Regions from separate parts of the Homo sapiens genome. Here regions 2 and 3 are each linked to region 1. Evidence: promoter capture Hi-C in 16 types of primary human blood cells and fetal thymus (Javierre and others, 2016). All regions are on one chromosome and are shown on one strand. The core of a region is centred on a gene start or on the middle of the fragment in contact, and the rest is flanking DNA. Distances in the headings are between cores, read along the strand shown. Region 1 holds the start of TXNRD1-AS1 (TXNRD1 antisense RNA 1). Region 2 has its middle 180 kb from the start of SLC41A2. Region 3 overlaps CHST11 (carbohydrate sulfotransferase 11).

The links. Contacts are between HindIII fragments. The CHiCAGO score rates a contact against its expected background, and 5 or more counts as called.
Region 2: a contact is called between a fragment that was not itself captured here and the fragment with the promoter of TXNRD1-AS1 in region 1, in 1 of 17 cell types (neutrophils). The highest score is 5.7, in neutrophils.
Region 3: a fragment that was not itself captured here is called in contact with the fragment with the promoter of TXNRD1-AS1 in region 1 in 1 of 17 cell types (neutrophils); the score reaches 5.3 in neutrophils.

What each region holds. Positions count from the first base shown.
Region 1 is chr12:104,278,814-104,282,715 of GRCh38, forward strand. TXNRD1-AS1 (TXNRD1 antisense RNA 1) reads right to left here and starts at 2,030. Exons shown (of 2, transcript XR_007063431.1): 1 at 1,471-2,030. The region is part of intron 3 of TXNRD1 (thioredoxin reductase 1); the gene reads left to right. RefSeq lists a silencer at 3,258-3,552. The HindIII fragment of the contact is 3,745 bases long and covers 57-3,801 here.
Region 2 is chr12:104,773,131-104,777,032 of GRCh38, forward strand. No RefSeq gene overlaps it. Among named protein-coding and RNA genes, the nearest start is that of SLC41A2, 180 kb to the right of the region's middle. The HindIII fragment of the contact is 9,463 bases long and covers 1-3,902 here.
Region 3 is chr12:104,695,065-104,698,966 of GRCh38, forward strand. The region is part of intron 2 of CHST11 (carbohydrate sulfotransferase 11); the gene reads left to right. Among named protein-coding and RNA genes, the nearest start is that of MIR3922, 110 kb to the left of the region's middle. RefSeq lists an enhancer at 658-797. The HindIII fragment of the contact is 3,884 bases long and covers 1-3,884 here.

The DNA.
Region 1 (3,902 bases), core at 780-3,279:
TTAAAGGCCAAATTACCTTTATAAAACTGAGGACCCCCTAACATTTACCTTGTAAAAGCTTTTTTTTCTCCTTTTCTCTGTGAAAAAGATGGAATATACAAATTAACTAAGTAATATCTGCATTTTTACAGATTTAATCTCTCAACAATTATTTATTGATCAATTACTATGTGTGCATACTATATTAAGTGCTGGGAACATGATGGTGAGCATAACTAATCCTGGTCCCTGCTCACATGTGGCTATGTACATCTATATTAATTAAACTTAAATAACATTAGAACTTCACATCCACACCTGTACTAGCCATCTTTTATGTACTTAATAGTCACATGTGGTGAGTGGCTATTGGGTTGGACAGTGTAGATTTAGAATATTTTCATCACCACAGAAAGTCCTCTTGGACTGTGCTATTCTAGAGTGAGGGAGGTGGACATTGATCAAATACTCATAAAAGTATGATTGCAATTGTAGTAAGTACTAGGCAGAAAGAATAGATGGTAACATGAGAACATTTCATAGGGGGATTTGACTTCTCTGTTGGTTTTCCCAAGGAAAACCTGTTCAAACTAGATTTGCTCAATGCTTGGAAGTTAGCAAAGCCCTGTGGTGGGAGGGAGGACAGTAATTACAGGGACTGAAAGCAAGCTAATGACTGAATCATGGGGATTGAGGAGAAGTTTGGGTGAGATGAAGGGGTGGAAGGACCACAAAGGGCCTTGTAGAAAGAAGATGAAGAAGCAGAGAGGCTTAGTAACTTGGCTTTGCAGTTAGTAATAGAACCTGGATTTGACTTCAAAGTCTACACTGCATAATAAGGGTATATTCAACAGACTTTGGTTCTGCAATTATCTCTTTTTGCTCCTTCTTTGGAAATTGCCAAAGTTCCCTCTACTGGATTATTCCTTTAGCATAAAAACATGCTGTAATAATTTCCTTCTTAGACAAACCAAAAAAACCAAAAAGTCTGGCCAGGCACGGTGGCTCACCCCTGTAATCCCAGCACTTTGGGAGGCCGAGGAGGGTGGATCACGAAGTCAGGAGTTGAAGACCAGCCTGGCCAACATGGTGAAACCCTCTCTCTACTGAAAATACAAAAATTAGCTGGGTGTGGTGGCATGCACCTGTAGTCCCAGCTACTCGAGAGGCTGAGGCAGGAGAATTGCTTGAACCCAGGAGGCAGAGGTTGCAATGAGCTGAGATCGTGCCTCTGCACTCCAGCCTGGGTGACAGAGTGAGACTCTGTCTCAAAAAAAAAAAAAAAAAAAAATTCCTCTATCCTACATCCCTCTTTAGCTCCTTTCCTATTGTTGTTTTGTTTTGTTTTGTTTTTATAGCAAAACCCCTTTAAGAGTTGCCTATACTTACTCCCTCCATTTCCTTATTTTCTGTTTCTTGCTGAACTTCTTCTAATTAGGATTTCTTACCTACCACCATTTTCATAAGTGACCTCCATGACTCAGCCCTTACCTTATAGGATTTCTTGGCAGTGCTTGAAATAGTTGATCTTCCTTTTTGGAGCACTTCTTCATTGGCTTCTGAGACACCACACAGTCTTGGTTTTCCTCCTACCTCCTGCCAGCTCCTTCTTAGGCTCCATTGCTGGGTTCTTTTCCCCTTTTGCAGTTTGAGCGTGCCAGGGCTCTGTCCTGGGCCATCTTTATTTCTCTAAATACATTAACTCCTGGGTAATTTCATCTAGTCCCATGGAGTGACAGTTAATTTTATGTGTCAACTTGGCTAGCATACGGTGCCCAGTTGTTTGGCAGATAAAAGCATAGATGTTGCTGTGAAGGTATTTTTTAGATGTGACTTACAATGAAATCAGTAGGCTTTGAGTAAAGCTAGTGACCCTCCATAATGTGGATGGGCTTCATCCAATTAGTTGAAGACCTTAGAGAAAAGATGGAGGTTTCCCAAAGAGGAAGCAATTCTGCACCCAGACCACCGTTAGTCTCAAGATTGCCACATCAATGCCTGCTTGAATTTCCAGCCTATCAGCCAGCCTTGGAGTTTTCAGACTTATCAGCCCTCACAACTGTGTGAGTCAATTCTTTAAAAAAAAGAAAAGAAAAAAATCTCTCTATATATACATGTATCCTATTGGTTCTGTTTCTCTGAAGAGCTGTGACTAATACACATGGTATTAAATATCTTTTATGTTTGACACCAAATGTTTATTTCTAGCCTTGACTTCTCCCTTGAACTCCATACTTACATATCCAACTGCTTAGTCAACCTCTCCATTTGGATAATAATAGATCTGTTAACCCATACTATGGATTTGTCCCAAACTATTGTTTTCCCCCACCTCCCATCTTTCTTCCTCCTCTCTGGGTGTTCCTGCTTTTCATTGAAGAGTGCTATTATTTACCCCATTGCTAAAGCCAGAAATCTAGCGTTATCATTGATTCTCTTTCTCTTACATCTCTTATTCCATCCATCTGTACAACTGTACAACATATATCTGTGCAATTAGCTTTACCTTCAAATGTATTTTTTAACCTCACTAATCAGCCTTTATCATCTCTAGCTTGGACCAGGACAGTAACTTCCTAGCAGGTCTGTATATCTCCATATCTCCACTTTTTTTTTTTTTTTTTTTCTTTTTGAGATGGAGTCTCACTGTGTCGCCCGGGCTGGAGTGCAGTGGTGGGATCTCGGCTCACTGCAAACTCCGCCTCCCGGGTTCACGCCATTCTCCTGCCTCAGCCTCCCCAGTAGCTGGGACTACAGGCGCCTGCTACCACGCCCGGTTAATTTTTTGTATTTTTAGTAGAGATGGGGTTTCACTGTGTTAGCCAGGCTCATCTCAATCTCCTGACCTCGTGATCCGCCCGCCTCAGCCTCCTGAAGTGCTGGGATTACAGACATGAGCCACCGAGCCCGGCCATATCTCCACTTTTAAGTCCCTGCCCTCCTTAGCCTATTTTCCACACAACTGAGCAATTATTTTATCATACAACAATCATTTCCTTCTCTTCTCTTCACACTCTGGCATCTTACCACATTTAAAATGAAATCCAAAATCCTGACTATGGCCTGATGATGGATGTGACCCCTGGCTATTCCTCTGACCTCACTTCCTACCACTTTTTTTCTCACTCATTAGGCTTTAGACATACTGGTTACTTTGTGGATTCTTGGATAAGTCAAGCAGACTCCTAGCTTAGGGCTTTAGTATGTTGAAGCCAGAATAAAAATGTGAGACAAGTCTCTAAATTAAAATTTTTTATTTGGAAAGAAAGAATAGCAATTTGGGGCATATATGCAGACAGGGTGGTCTTCAGTATGTCTGAAGAACAAAGAGAAGGTTAGAGGTTTTAGAAACAGGAGAGCTGTTACATATTGCTCTTCAAGAAAGTTCTTTGGGACTAGTTAGGGTTTGGGGAGCTAGCAAGCTCTGGTGAGTGATGGCAGTGGGCAAAATTAGTCCTAGAGTTTCAGCAAGTTCTCTTAGCATTTATAGATAAAGCTGGTCTCAGGTTACAACAGGCAGTTTCAGCAGTCAGGCTTGCAGAGAATTACATTCTTGGAGCAATGTTTTGTACCCTGAGTGCTTTTCCCCCTAGCCCCTTGGCTCTGATTTAATTGGGAATGACAAGAATGACCCAATTTTATGATCAGCTTTCACAAGTACCTCCTCTTTCCTCTGCTTAGAAAGATTTCTTCCCTAGGTACTCTCATGGCCTGTTCCCTCATAGCACTGTGGGCTCTGCTCAAGCATCACATTCTGAGATCTTTCCTGACTTCCCTACCCTACTTTATTCTTCTTCAAGGTACAAAGAACTCTTTCAGAAAAGCTTTGTGTGTGTGTGTGAAGGAGAGCAATGAAATGGGGTGGTGGTAACTGCAAGGGTTGGGGCACATGGGATCATGAGAGCCTTTTCTTTCTTTTTGGG
Region 2 (3,902 bases), core at 899-3,398, 490 kb after region 1:
ATTACTTGGCCATTACTTCTCTAAATATTCTTTCCTGCCCCTACACTCTTTCTAGGACTCTACTTATATGTTAGACCACTTGATGTTGCTCCATTGATCATGAATGCTTTGTTCATTTTTTAAAGTTTTTGTTTTCTTGGTGTGCTTCATTTTGAATATTTTCTAATTGCTCTTTCTTCAAGTTTACTGATTCTTAATCCTGCGGTTAATGCCATCCCAGGGAAATTTTCATTTCAGATGTTGTATTTTTTATTTCTATAAGTTCCATTTGGATCTTTAAAAGTGTTACATTTCTTTCCTTATAATGATCACATGTCCTTTATATCCTTGAGAATGTGGAAGTGTGTGTGTGTGTGTGTGTGTGTGTAATCTTTTAAAGTCATTATCTGCTAATCCATCATCACTATCATTTTTAGGTCTGCTTATATTGACTAATTTTTCTCCTGATTACTGTTCCAATTTTCTTGCCTTTTTGTATGTCTAGCAACTTTTAATTTGATGGTGGATATTTAATTTTACATTTTTCAGGCTGGGTTTTACTATACTCTTTAAAGGGGTGTTGGACATTTTCTGGCAGGCAATTACATTACTTATGGATTAGACTGATCCTCTTCAGGTTTGTTTTTAAACTCAGTTAAAGTGGGTCTGGAGCAGCCTTTATTCTAGAGCTGATTTAACCCCATTTGTAAGGTGTGGTCTTTCTGAGGGTTCCACTTAATTCCATGAATATTTAATGAGGTCTTTTACACTTGCTAGAAGCAATTCAAATAACTCCCGGCATTGTGTAACCTCTGGGAAATATTTTTCATATAGCACCTCAGCAATTGTCCTTTCCTTGTAAGTTGTTCTCTTCTGGCCTTGTAGGATTTTACTCTATGCATGCACTTACTGGCATTCATTCAAAGACACAAAAGGACCTCTATCCAAATTTCTGATGCTCTTTCTTAGTGTAGCTCTCTTCACTTGCGTACCCTGCTCTGCACCTAATTCTAGCCACCTAGGCATTTCAGAATTTCAGTCTAACTCCTCGACTCAGAGAGACTGTATGGAATTTCCTTCTGTGAACCACAGTCTGGTAATTACCTCAGACAGAAAGTCTTGGCAATGTGGACCTTACCTCCTTTGTTCCCTTTTCTAAGGAATCATAGTTCATTTCTGCCTGTTGTTCAGTGTCTGAAAATTGTTATTGTCTATATTTTGTCCATTTTTCTAGTATTTTATTGTGGGAAGTTAATTCTGGACTGTCTTATCCTGTCATAGGTGGATGCAGAAAAATGCCTGTTTTAATACCTATAGTTAAGCCAACATCTTATGGTTATTTAGTTAATCCCTTAACACTAAGAGTTTAGTGTTATTTCTCTAGTTTTAAATATTATGTTTCATAATGCTTTTTCTAATTATTTCTATGTAAAACATTATACCTAGTGCCAATGAGAACATTATTATTAAAAATGATTTTTTTCCTTTAGAGGATATTTTCTTAAGATTTAGAGTTACCAAAACAAAGGATATGAACAACTTTATAGTTCTCATTGCAGTATTTCCTGATTGTCTCCAGAAAGATAAGACTCATTTACAGTGCCTCTAGGAGTATGAATACATATTTCTCCTGATTGCTAGCATTGGACTTTATCACTCTAATTTATTTTCATTAGTTGAACCCGTGAGTAATGGTGCCTAGAAGATGGTTCAATTTGTTATTTTTTCTCATAGTGCTAGGAGTGCATTTTCTCAATAGATAATTAAATGTCTGATTTTTCTTGTATATAAACTATCTGTTCATCAATCTTGATGATATAGCAAGTGGAATTATGGTATTTATATTATAGGACCTCATTACATTTGGTAGAATTGTACGCTATTATCTGTTGTGTTTTTCACATAGCTTAATCCCCTCTTTTAGTTTACAAGTAACTTTCATTTTTCAGTCTTCTTTAAGCAACAGATTGTTAGATTTTGTTCTTAATTCTGTTACTGGTTCCTCTTCCTCCTCCGCCTCCTCCTCTTCTTCTCATCTCTTCTTCTTCTTCTTCTTTTTTTTTTTTTTTTTTTTTTTTGAGACAGAGTCTTGCTCTATTGCCTAGACTGGGACAATCATGGCTCACTGCGGCTTCAGCCTCCCTAGCTCAGGCAATCCTCCAGAGTAGCTGGGACTACAGGCATGTGCCACCACACCTGGCTAATTTCTTAATTTTTGGTAGAGATGGCATTTTACCATGTTGCCCAGTCTGGTCTTGAACTCCTGAGCTCAAATGATCCACCCATCTTGGCCTCCCAAAGTGCTGGGATTACAGGCGTGAGCCACCACTCCTGGCCTGGTTCTTCTTTATCCAGAGGATTTTATCTTTTTGGCTTAAATATAAGTTGATATATTTATGCTTTTTACTACTTCCTAAGTCTATTTTTAAGGGCTGCTATGGCCTGCTTTCTCTTTTTATTTGCATTGCCACTGTAGTAAATTTTAGCATCTTGATTTCCCTTCATTCTGCACTCCCAATCTACTGGACTCTAAATTCCATGTCTGTGTTGTGAAACCATGTCTGTGTTGTAACTGCCATATTCTCAGTATCTAGCACAGTATCTGGCACATTGATGTATTCATTTAAAAATAATTACTGAGACCCTGCCGTGAATGCCATGGAGACCAGGTATATGTGACTTAACCCCAGTAATCAGCTCTTTTCAGGAATCTAGTTTTATCTTGTGCTTCTCATATTTTATTGTCTGTTTTATAGTTATTAATGTTTCTTTGTTAACTGTGCCCTCTGGGGATGTCCTAGACAATTTCTCTTTCAGAAGGGTTTTCATGTAATTCAAATCTGCCTTGCCCCTGATGGAAGTTCTTGCAGCTGTGGGATGTGGGGTTGACAAATTATTTCAGTACCTCTGACATATCTCATATTAGCTCATAAAAGGTCAACCTGGCCTAGGTTAAAGGTCAAGCAAAAGGCCAATCAGACCTTGAAAGGTCAACCTGACCAGCCCTGCAAGGATACTGACAACTCCATTTCTCTTAGTTTTGTATGTTTTCCCCGAAGCCTTCCTTTTCTGTTCTCTATAGTTTAAGGGGTAAACTCCAGATTTGTTTTCTTCTTACATCTCTCAATGCTTCCTTTCTTTTTAAATCCTTAAAAGAGGCTGTCTTTAATTCTGATGTCTAAACATTGACCAGAAACTGTCTTTCTTAGAATGTTACTCTTCAATTTTTAAATTAATGTTATTCTTTAATTTTTTGAATGTGGATTTCTGTCATTCTCTCCCAGTGACTGAATCAAGATTGCCATTCAGGATAGAATACGGATCTTTAATGATTTTCTTGGCCCTAGTGTATCCCTTGAAGCCTTAGACACTGTTGGGATCTGCTTGTCCTATTCTATTTAATGAGTTCTTCCCAGGACTCCCAAGATCTGTCCATTTTTCCTGCATTCTAGTCTCTGTGTCTGCGATTTGGTATTGATTTAGGTTGCTGTGCAGGTGCATCTCCCACCTTATTGACTAGCTTTTTGAGCTGATGCAATAGCATCTGTGTAAACTTTTCCAAACACTTGGTTCAAATGAAATCTTATGCAGAAGTCCAATCTGAAAAAAAGGCATACCCAGTGCTGCTTTGGTCATTGGTGGTGGTGAGGGAAGAGGATTGAGAGGGTATGGAGCCCTTCCAACTTCTCCATCCCCCATCGCCATAAGTCCCCAAGATAATTCTGAGAACCCAAGGATTCCAGGTAGTTTTACTCAAGCTGCACTTGCATCAGGTCTGCTTTCCCACCTTGGTTTTACGTCCTAGACACATTTATAAGCCTGAGTTCTGTCTTTCATGTTTGCTCAACTTCCCTTTTTAATACTATCATTTCTTACTTAATATTTTACATTAACCTATGTCTTATCCCTCATGCTTCCTCGAG
Region 3 (3,902 bases), core at 693-3,192, 420 kb after region 1:
AGCTTGACACCCTGCCTTCAGATCCTGGCATCATCATTTGGCAGGAACACGTGTGGCCTTTCACAAGCAACAGGATTTCTTTGAGCCTCAGCTGTCCCATCTGTAAGATGGACATGGTGTTGCCTTCCCAACTGGCTTGCCCTGAGACTAAATTTGGAAATTGCCAACATTCCTCGAATGCTCCTTATGTGCCAGCTATTGTGGGGAGGGCCTCAGCTCAGCCCCCTCCAAGGCCTGATAGTTTGAAGGCACTGAGGTAGAGGTTTTGTGTCTGTTCCTAGAATTAGGCAGTTTGGTTCCAGAATCAACATCCTTAACCATTAGATGACACTGTCTGTGAAGAGAAAGAAAACTCATGAAAACACAATTCACAACACAATGAGTGTGTGTGTGTGTGTGTGTGTGTGTGTATGTGTCCTTGTGGTTTGCTTATTGAACAAGCATTTCCTGAGCACCTACTTTGTGCAAAGCCATGGAAACATAAAGATGACTAAGGCACAGTTCCCAGCTGCAAGCGGGGAGCTTCCAGACATTTCTATCTTACCTCAGAGCTAGTGATAAGAATAGGTTCCCTCACTCTCACTTCCACCCAGCATGTGCCTTAGCTTACAATTGATAGATTTTTTTAATTCTGTGACCACAGAGCTCTTTGCCAGAAATGGGGGCGGGGGAAATCCATTACCCAGAAGCGGCCCCAGCTCCCCCTTCACAGCCCTCCTTTCTTGTGGGTAGCTGGCATTGCCACGTACAGAGTAACTTGGACGTGACGCTTCACCGTGAAGTCACACTCCTGGCCTGCTGGGAACAGTGGGGCAGCCCTGGAGGAGCCAACCCGATGAATAACGTTATTGGAGGTGTCCATATAAAGAGGACCTTGTGTAAATAAATGATGTGACCCTCCCACCCCCACTTTGGCAGGGCTGCGGAGCTGAGAAAGGGAAGCACAGGAAATGTGTTTATTTTGCCTTTGCTGAGCAGTCGTTCTGAGGGTACACAATGCAACATTAAACCCCAGGGGAGCCTCCTAGGTATGTTAACTCGCCATCTGCATGCTCCCTTTGCTGTGCAAAGAGCACAGAAATGGTTTCCAAGCCTTCTGTTTGGCTCCCACCCACCCTACCTTTTTTCTTTTTTCCTTTTGTCTACTTGGGAAATTTTTGAAGATAAAGTGCAGCAGATGATATAATAAACACTTTTTACTCACCATCCTGAATTCACAAATGTAACATTGTGGCATATTTGCTTCAGATCTTTTATAGATCTGCCTATATAATAGAAATAAACCATCAGGGTCAGGCACGGTGGCTCACGCCTGTAATCGCAGCACTTTGGGAGGCTGAGGCGGGCGGATTACTTGAGGTCAGGAATTCAAGACCAGCCTGGCCAACATGGTGAAACCCCGACTCTGCTAAAAATACAAAAAAAAAAAAAAAAAAAAAAAAACATAGCTGGGCGTGGTGGTGCACACCTGTACACCTGTACTCCCAGCTACATGGGAGGCTGAGGCAGGAGAATTGCTTGAACCGGGAAGGCAGAGGTTGAAGTGAGCCGAGATCACGGTACTGCACTCCAGCCTGAGCAACAGAGTGAGACTCGGTCTCAAAAAAAGAATAAAATAAAATAAACAAACCATCACCAAGGTAGAAATCTCTTTTGAATCTCCTCTTCTCCCCTTCATCCCTGCCTCTCAACCTCTTATGAATTTACAATATAAATTCCAGTGTTTGTTTTATACTGTGACTCCTATATCTGGACCCAGATACAATATGCAACACAGGTTTATGTTTTCATAATTTATGTAGGTGCTATCATACTGAATATATTACTCTTCAATTTGCCTGTTCTGTACAACTATGTGTTTTGATGTCCAGCCCTGTGGATCCCTCAGTCTGTTCCAATTACTGTATCATGTTCCATCATATGATTATATTGCATTCTATTTATGTATCTACCTATAGGTAGACAGATAAATTGCTTCCATTTTTTTATCATTATGAATAACATTGATCAAAGCATCCTGGTGCATGTCTGCCTTCAGATGCACAAGTATAAGTGTGTCCCTATAGTGTGTGTCTCAGGACACCCGCCAGCAGTGGATGGGGACCCCGATTTCCCTGGGTCCTCCTCACTGCTTCGTGTTGACATATTGTGATAGTTAATTTTTTGTGACAATGTGACTGGATTAAGGGATGCCCAGATAACTGGTAAAACATTATTTCTGGGTGTGTCTGTGAGGGTGTTTCTGGAAGAGATTAGTCTTTGAATCAGTAGACTGAGTAAAGAAGAGCTTCCTCTCCAGTGTGGCCGGGCATCCTTCCAATCACTTGAGGCCTTGGATCAAACAAAAAGGTGGAGGAAGGGCCAATTCTCTCTTTTCTTGAGCTGGGACGTCGGAGCTCCTGGTTCTCCGGCCCTCGTATCCAGACTGAATCTCACCACCAGCTTTCCTGGTTCTCCAGCTTGCCAATGACATATCATGGGACTTCACAGCCTCCATAATCACACGAGTCAATTTCCATAATAAACCTCCTCTTATATATGTCTTATATATCCTACTGATTCTGTTCCTCTGGAGCACCCTAACACACAGATGTTTTGTATTTCTTCCCAACTAAGTGGCCTCTCCATTGAAAAAAATAAGAAAATTTAAAACAAGGAGCTTGCTCAGAAGTGGCATGACCTGCCCATGAAAAGGAATGCTTTGTAAATCCCAGAGTTCAACATCATCTTTCCTCAGGGCTCCTGGAGATTCTGGACTCAGGAGCACTTTTCTTTTCTTTTCCTGGGACCATGCACAGTGGCATGGCATGTCAGCCTTTGCCAAGTAAAGGGCGACTTCCTATGGCATTTTTGACCAAGTCTTGACTTTCTTACCTGGGTCATTTAAGAATATTTGGGCCTCTTCTCCCATCTGCTGTCAGCACCTGGTCCAAGCCTCATTACTCATCTCTTGCCTGGATGGGTGCCCTGTGTCCTTACTGGTCTCCTGGCGTCAATGTCCCCTAGTTGAATGCATCAGCATGTTTATTTCATGCAGTCACATATCAAGCCATTTATTCATCCATCATTGACTGGAGCCCTGTTCAGTGCACCCCTGTAACTGTTGCTATGGCCTCTCATTACCTGCAGAACCCAACCCAAATGCCTTAGCCTGGCCATCAAGGCATTTCATCATCCCAACCTCAACCCATTTCTCCAGCATCATCTCCATCTTCTCCACCTCCTCACCCACATGACTCCAAGCACTTGATGACAATGTTCTTGCTCCCTCTGCCAATGTTCCCTGTCTCTACTTGTGAAACACTTTCCTGTCACCTAGAAGTCACTTGGTAAGCTCAGTTCTTACCCAGGGAGCTTTCCTCGGGCTCCAGTGCAGGACTATCTTTTTCCTTGTCTGCTTCCGTAGAGTTATCTACCTATCATCACCTGTCTCTTCAGCTACAGTGCGCGCTCTGTAATTCCAAAGTTCTCACCCATCTCTGTAGTCTCAGGGCTAAGGGCTGTGTCTGGTATACAGAAGGCATTCAATTAAAGCATATTGGTGAATGTCTCCTGACCTTCCTTCCTGCACTTACCAGCTCGGCATAGGCAGTGCTACCACTCAACTGTCTGTTATCTGTTAGAAAGTTTTTCTGCTGAGCAAATTACTGGAGACATGATTGAAGGTTTGTTTAATCTTGAGAAGATAAATTAGTATTTCAAGAGTTTAACATAGCATGTGCAAATGAATATTCTTTATTATTAATCAGGAAGTCTTATCTGTTTACTAAAGCAAGCACTGTTTACTTGGAAACTCTTTTGAATTTACTCTTTATACTTAAAAGTAATTCAATTGAATGTGATTGAATATTGTCTTTAATTCTGACGTAGCTAGTTAAAAACCAAGCTTTTCCTAATCAATA